2 separate regions of the Homo sapiens genome follow, and region 1 is linked to region 2. Evidence: promoter capture Hi-C in 16 types of primary human blood cells and fetal thymus (Javierre and others, 2016). All regions are on one chromosome and are shown on one strand. The core of a region is centred on a gene start or on the middle of the fragment in contact, and the rest is flanking DNA. Distances in the headings are between cores, read along the strand shown. Region 1 has its middle 92 kb from the start of TNFRSF11A. Region 2 holds the start of TNFRSF11A (TNF receptor superfamily member 11a).

What was found. Contacts are between HindIII fragments. The CHiCAGO score rates a contact against its expected background, and 5 or more counts as called.
Region 1: a contact is called between a fragment that was not itself captured here and the fragment with the promoter of TNFRSF11A in region 2, in 1 of 17 cell types (megakaryocytes). The highest score is 5.6, in megakaryocytes.

What each region holds. Positions count from the first base shown.
Region 1 is chr18:62,415,767-62,419,281 of GRCh38, reverse strand. It overlaps the pseudogene RPL17P44. Among named protein-coding and RNA genes, the nearest start is that of TNFRSF11A, 92 kb to the right of the region's middle. RefSeq lists an enhancer at 848-897. The HindIII fragment of the contact is 6,401 bases long and covers 1-3,515 here.
Region 2 is chr18:62,323,531-62,327,056 of GRCh38, reverse strand. It overlaps TNFRSF11A (TNF receptor superfamily member 11a), which reads right to left and starts at 1,747. Exons shown (of 10, transcript NM_003839.4): 1 at 1,630-1,747. The coding sequence starts at 1,704. RefSeq lists silencers at 1,656-1,855, 1,906-2,115. The HindIII fragment of the contact is 5,361 bases long and covers 1-2,825 here.

The DNA of each region.
Region 1 (3,515 bases), core at 345-2,844, 92 kb before region 2:
AACTCACTCACTGTCATGAGAACAACATGGGGGAAATCTGCCCCCATGATCCAGTCACCTCCCACCAGGCCCGTCCTCCAATTCAACATGAGATTTGTGTGGGGACAAAAATCCAAACCATATCAAACAGTAAGCAACAGAAAACATAGTATATCCACAATGGACTATGATTTGGAAAGAAAAAGGAATTAAATACTGATACATAGTACAGCATTGACAAACCTCAAAAACATTATGAAAGAGGACAGTCACCACGACTGCATACTGTATGATTTCATTTTCATTTCATTGTATGAAATATCCCAGATAGGTAAATCTAGGGAGAATGCAAAGATTAGTGGTCACTCAGGGCTGGGGGTGGGGGGTGCAGGTTGGAAGAAATAGTGAGTGACTGTGAGTGGATGCACAGTTTCTTTTTGGGGGTGATGAATTGTTCTAAAAATTGAATGTGGTGATGGTTGCACAACTCTGAATGTACACACAAAAAACCCATTGAATTGTGCACTTTAAAGAGATGAATTATATGGTATGTGAATTTTATTATTTGTATTTCTTTACACATACCAGTCATCTTCTGTTTGGGCGTTAGTTCTCAATTAGGATATAAAAGGATTCAGCAGTGATGGAGTTTCTCACAAAGGGGTGATGGGCCAAGGAGGTCATGGTCAGAAGGGCAGAGTGCACCCTTCACTGGCCCCTCTTAGGTGATGCTTGCAGAGTTGCTCACAGTTGAGCTCTTTGTAAGAAAGAACATAGAGGAAAAGCTGTAAGCTGCCAGCTATAGAAACCCCTGCAATGCTCCCTTCCTTCCTGTGAGGCACTTGTTCTAATGCGGGTAGTAACTTCTTTGAAATGCTCCAATCATGCCTTTCAGGGTGAAACCCCACATCAATAGCCAGCTTGGCAGCTCCCCAAGTTAGGCATCCATGACTTTCCTCTCTTTCACTGGTGCAACTGACACCATCTTGGAGTCCTGGTTGTCCACCATTGGTCATGTGAATTACTGTTGGTAACAGCTCAATAATGCTGTCATTTATAAAGAAGAGTGAACTTTTCTGGTAGAGATACATGTCAACAATGACAACACACCCTGGTTGGTCCTATGTCATAGGCTGTTTTAATTTACATGTTTACTTTTCAGCTCCTCTACCGAGGAACCACAAAGTAGTAATCTTTGCATCCCCAGGGCCCATGAAAGTTCATCCCTAAATGTTGAACGCTCCATAGATTGGTAGCCTGCTAGCTGGCAACTTGGGAAAATTAATTGCAAGAGAATTGAATCCTCAGTGAGTGCTTCTTTGTAAACATGGGATATTGAAATTTCTGTAAAGCAAGCCCTCACATAAAAAACTCACTTTACAGTGTGAAAATGCCAAAGTTGATTTAAAAATAAAATAGAAGTTAGGACAAATATATGCTTTTGCAAGCATTTATTCAGTGTTTAAATTCAAACAGCTCATATAAATGATATGTTCTAAACATTTCTTGGGGGGTACTTGGTCATGGGTAGGGTGAAATGAAGTTTTTTAAAATAAAAGTTCCATAAAGTTTTGACTGAAGGTATCATGTTTTTCCCCAGTTAATCTTTCAGGGTTAAGCATTGCTTTTCTTTATTGTGCCAAGAACCTCCAACTTCTAAGTTAGGTTTAATCTTCTCAAAAAGTATGCTCTGAGTATTTGATGGGTATGAATGTCTCCAAAGGTATTCAATGGAATATGCTGGTAAAAAGAGCTCTTTGAGGCTTCTCATTCTATGAATTTCAACGATTCCATTTTCATAAACTCCCCATGCTTGAGCTGCTCTGAATGAAAACTTGACAACTCAAGCCTATCTGCAAGAAAAACTTCTTTATTCAACACATAATGTAACCAGGGAAGATTTTTCTTTTTTGACAATTCCAATGGTGTTACTGTCCAAAAGGAGTCTTGTTCTCTTAGAATGAAGTTCTCAAAATATAGATTACAGAAAAAAAAAAAAGGAAATTGAAACCTCACTGAGATACTACTTCTCATTTCTCAGAGGGCCAAAAAAATCATAAAGAAGGACACCATACTCATTTCTGCTGGCAATATTAAGTGGTATAATCTTTATAGAAGAGAGTTTGACAATAGCTAGCAACATTATATGCATTTGCCTTTTGACTCATCAATCCCACTTCTAGGAATCTATTCCAAAGATGCTCTCAAAATAAGAAATTCATATACACAAGGCTTTTCATGATGACACTGCTAGTAAGAGCAAAAAACTGGGAATAGCCCAAATGTCCATCAACAGAGTAATGGTTGAATAAAGTACCTTCACATGTTGGAGTACTATGTAGCTGAAAAAAAGAACAAAGTTTTCTATGTATTGGTGTCAAGTGAGAATAATTTTTAAGTGCAATCCAGATGCAGAAAATGTGTATAATGGGTTACCTCTTCTCTGTGAAGGAAAAAACAACAAATATTTACTATATTTATTTGCTTACATAAAAAAATAATTGAAGGACAAATCAAAACTAAAAAATATTACTGTGGGAGAGGGAGGCAACAGAGGAGGGTACAGGTATGACAGCTAGACTTTCTGTTTATTTGATGGTATCTAGGAATTATTACTAATATTTTTAGATGTGATGATACTGTAGTATGTTTAAAAATTGCCTTATCTTTAGTGATATAAACTAAAGGCTTTTTAAAAGATAAAATTATGTGATATCTGGGACTTTTTAAAACTTTTAATTGCATTTATTCATTTATTGTCTTGAGACAGAGTCTCACTCTGTCACTCCGGCTGGAGTGCAGTGGCGCGATCTCGGCTCGTTGCAACCTCTGTCTCCCAGGTTCAAGCGATTCTCCTGCCTCAGCCTCCTGAGTAGCTGGGATTACAGGCACGCACCACCACGCCCAGCTAATTTTTTAATTTTTAATAGAGAAGGGGTTTCACCATGTTGGCCAGGCTGGTCTCAAACTCCTGACCTCAAGTGATCCACCCACCTCGGCCTCCCAAAGTGCTGGGATTACGGGCGTGAACCACTGTGCCTGGCCTTAACTGCATTTATTTTAATGCTGAATTTACTCCTGTGCCATAAGTTTTTGTTTCTTCAGTTTCTTCTGGGACATCTTTTTCTTCTGGGCAACCTCTTCTTTTGGTTTAGGAATAATTTGTTCCTTTTCAGTAAGGATCATCTCGATGTGGCAGGGAATGCTCACGTATGGCTTAATCTAACCATGAGCTCTGTAGGTCTGGTAACACATCTTAGATGCTTTGTCCACTTGGATATGCTCAATGACCAGAGAGTCTACATCTCAACCCTTAAGTTCAGCATTGCTCTCTGCATTTTTAAACATGTGCAGCAAAAATTCAGCACTCTTCTTGGGTCACCAACCTTGTGTCCAGCCCCACTGCTTGGCCTGGGCACACCTACCAACTCCACCACTGTAACGTTGGAATGGTACACACTGTTTCTGTAAAGTGACATCTTTCAGATACTTCATGGCTTTTTGTATATGCATAGCCTTGATGGCCTGGGCAGTTT
Region 2 (3,526 bases), core at 498-2,997:
TTCCTCCCCAAACCCGCCCCAAAATCTGTTTTGCAGCACCCTGCAGAAGCCCCTATGGATGCTATAATGAGCTTCAATCATCTGACCCTTCCTCAAGTCTCTTATTTTGTAGGAGTCCTGTGCCTATGTATGTAATTAAGTACAGTTTTTCTCCTGTTAGTCTGTCTTATATCAATTGAATTCGTGGCCCAGCCAAGGAATTCATAAGGTTCCTAGAAGGTTCGCTCCCCTAGAATTGGAAATGACCAATGCAAAAGTTTACATTTTTAAACATGCATAATGAAAGGGGCTTAAAGGCAAAAAGACGGGAAACAGCATTTGTTGAAAGGTCTCCCTGAAAAATAAACTTATTTTGATAGCATTTGTTGTTCATATTAGAACCGAACGCCTTTTATGCACATATGAATATGTCATTTTGCGACAGCAGTGAGAGATAATTTTGCAACTGCGTGGTCAGGCAGGTTTTTCTTAGGTGGCTAGCTGTTCGCTGAAACCCTGGTCCTTTGGTTCAAATAAGGTAGCACCCCGTTCAACCTGTTGAACACTTAATTAAGCAACACCTGAAGTGCTTAAAATGAAAAAATCCTTTAGACTTTTCCGCCTTCGTTTCCCTCAACCATACTGACAGACCCATACAATTGGGAATGAATCTTCCCTAGAATCTTTTGCTTCAGCCTTCAGTGCACCCACATTATTTCTGTCAAGGCTTTTCCCCTCTCTTCTCACCCAAACACGATTCTCCATGCGTCCCTCCCCACGCCTCTCCGGGTTCCGTGCCCGGCTGCGGAGGGACGGCAGCAGCCTAACCTAGTGTTAACAGAGGGGAAATCTGACCCAGCCGAAACCAAGAAAACCACCACTCGCCCTTCCCTGTGAGAGCTTTCAAGTTCGTATCAACGATTTTTAAAGCGTTTGTTGTGCTGGGTGTGCTTCCCTCTGCGGCCCTCCTCCACGAGGCAGAAAGTCCGTGCCTGGCTGCATTCGCTTGCTAACTGTACTGAGAAACCTGTTCCGAGAGGACCGGGAAGCCACTCGGGTCTGCGAGGGTCAAGTCCAGCATCCCCGGGGCGCGCGCGCAGTCTCTCCCCGCCGTGCGGGGCCTCCAGGCGAGCTGGCAGGGGTGTCCCCGAAGGGGCTCAGGGGAGGCAAAGGCAAGCCCGCAGTTCAGGGACGGAGGGAATCATGTCTCTTTCCGGGTGGAAATTTGGGACGGAGGCCACCCGGGAGAAATCGTATCGGGAACGGTTATCTGCCGCAAGTGAGGTGCCCACGGCGCTGTCTCCCGCGGCACCGCCCGGCGCAAGCGCTTAGTAGGTGCTCAAGAAGCATTTGGAGAAAATGACAGCATCAAAGCCTGCGGCTAAGAGGGGCTTTTGGAAGAGCCCGTTTCGGGTGTTGCGGTCCCGCCAACCTGCTCCTTCTGCGCCCCAGTTTCCCTCCGCTTGCCCTTTCCCGCCCTCCGCCGTCCAACTCTGGAAGCGCCTCCCCAGCTTCCCACGGCCTCCGCTCCCCAAAACTCCGGCTCCTCTCGGAAGGCGGAGGAGCCAGGATGCCGCCGGCCCCGGCCCTTCCCGGGGCTCCCGAGGAGGCGTCGGGCCGCGCGGCCCGGCAGGCGCGGGCGCTCCTTACCTGCAGCCGGGCGAGCAGCGCGCAGAGCAGCAGCAGCGCGAACAGCGGGCGGCGCCGCCGGGCGCGCGGGGCCATGGCGCGGGACAGGCTGGCGGGCGCCGCGGCCTCAGCGGCCTCTGTGGCCCAGCGGGCGCGGCTGCCGCGGCCCTGTGTGGTCCCGCCCCCGTGCCCCGCCCCGCACCTGCCCCCGCGCCGCCCTCCTGCGCCCCCCTCCGGCCGGGCCCGGCGGTGCCAGCCAGGTGGTGCCCAAGCTCCCCTGGTTTGCGGTGGGACGCGGGGCCCCGCTCGGGGAGGGGCCCCGGGGGTGTTCGCCGCGCCCGGTGCCTCCTTGGTCCGGTCTCCGCCCCTGGCCCAGGTGCTCGGGCTGCAGACAGGTTGGCGGGAGACCAGCCCTGGGTTGCCCTTCACGGCACTGGCTCCTGCCTTGCCGCACCCCAGGCCTGTGGGCCCCGCCTCCCGGGAAGGAATGGGGGCATCGGGGTGGTCCTGCTCCTGCCCCGCGCGCCCACCCTTCGAGGCCCGGCCTTCCGAAAGTGGATGCGCCACCGTCGAGAATGAACGGGAGGAGGATCCTTCCTGGAGATTTCGTCGACTGCAGTTAAGGCATCAACACAATACACCATCCGCCAATCTTCGTAAAATACTCCTCTTGTTCTTTGCTTCAAAATGTTGGGGCCAGCAGCCACTATCTCTTTTTCTTCTCCTGATCCTCTGCCTCCGCCCCTCACCCGTCCTGCACCCACCAAATTCTAGAAAGGCACCAGGCTCCGCCAGCCTTGAGGCGTCCCCCAGCCCCCATCACCACATTGGCCCTTTCAGACATAAAGTGGCCAGATGTCTGGGGCACAGTGTTACCTAAAAACTGAGGTCCGTTCTTCTGGTGCAGTAAGGCCAAGCCATCCGCACTAAGGTTTGCACTGGGAGAAAAGAGGGCGCTTATCTGCAGAGCTCCAGGCAAGGAGAATGGGGCAGCTCTTGCTTAAATCCTGACCTTCAGTTGGCTTGCAAGTAAGGATTTTTAAACGCAGGGTTAATTTCAAGAAAGCAGAAGTTACAGGCAAAATCATAATACACGGAGGTTGCACATTGGTTTGGTCTAACAAGCTGGGATATCTTGAAAATCTTTAAAGTGAGGGTGCTTATAGGTTATACATTCAAAGATTTTCTGACTTGCCATCAGTGAAGGAAGAGAAGCTTTGTTAAAAATTTGGGGTCAGCAAAAATGAATGTTAGCTCTGGCTCGTGGGTGTGACTTCCTCCTTGCCCTTCAGGAAGAAATTTAGAAGAAAGAATGGTGGTCAGTTCCGTCCTCATTTCCCCCTTGTCTGAGGTCTGCATGCCAGTGGATCTGTTTTGTTGGGGGTCTGGGTTTCTGAGAAACAATTCAGGGACATATGTTAAGATGTTATCTTTCGTTTCTATAGGGAATCTAACTTCCTTGGTTATTGTTTTAAGCTATAATTACCTTCTTGCTTATCAAGTTACTTATTTACTTCTTAGGGCTAGCTAGGTACCTGGAATTTCCCTTGAAGGAACTCAAGATTTTCCTTTATTTCCATGCTTAGGGGTGCTCCACAGGCTCCTAAGATGGGTTCCTGCTCCATCTCAATAGCATCCTGTTGTTTTTGTTTGTCATTACTTGCTTAGGATTGTGTCTTTCCTCACATTCTAGGTCGATGTTGGATCCATACGTATAATCCCTCCTTTGTATCATGTATTAGTCCGTTTTCATGCTGCTGATAAAGACAGGGCAATTTACAAAAGAAAGAGGTTTAACGGACTTACAGTTCCATGTGGCTGGGGAGGTCTCACAATCATGGTGAAAGGCAAGGAGGAGCAAGTCACATCTTTCCTGGATGGCAGCAGGCAAAGAGAGAGCTTGTGCAAGGAAACTCCC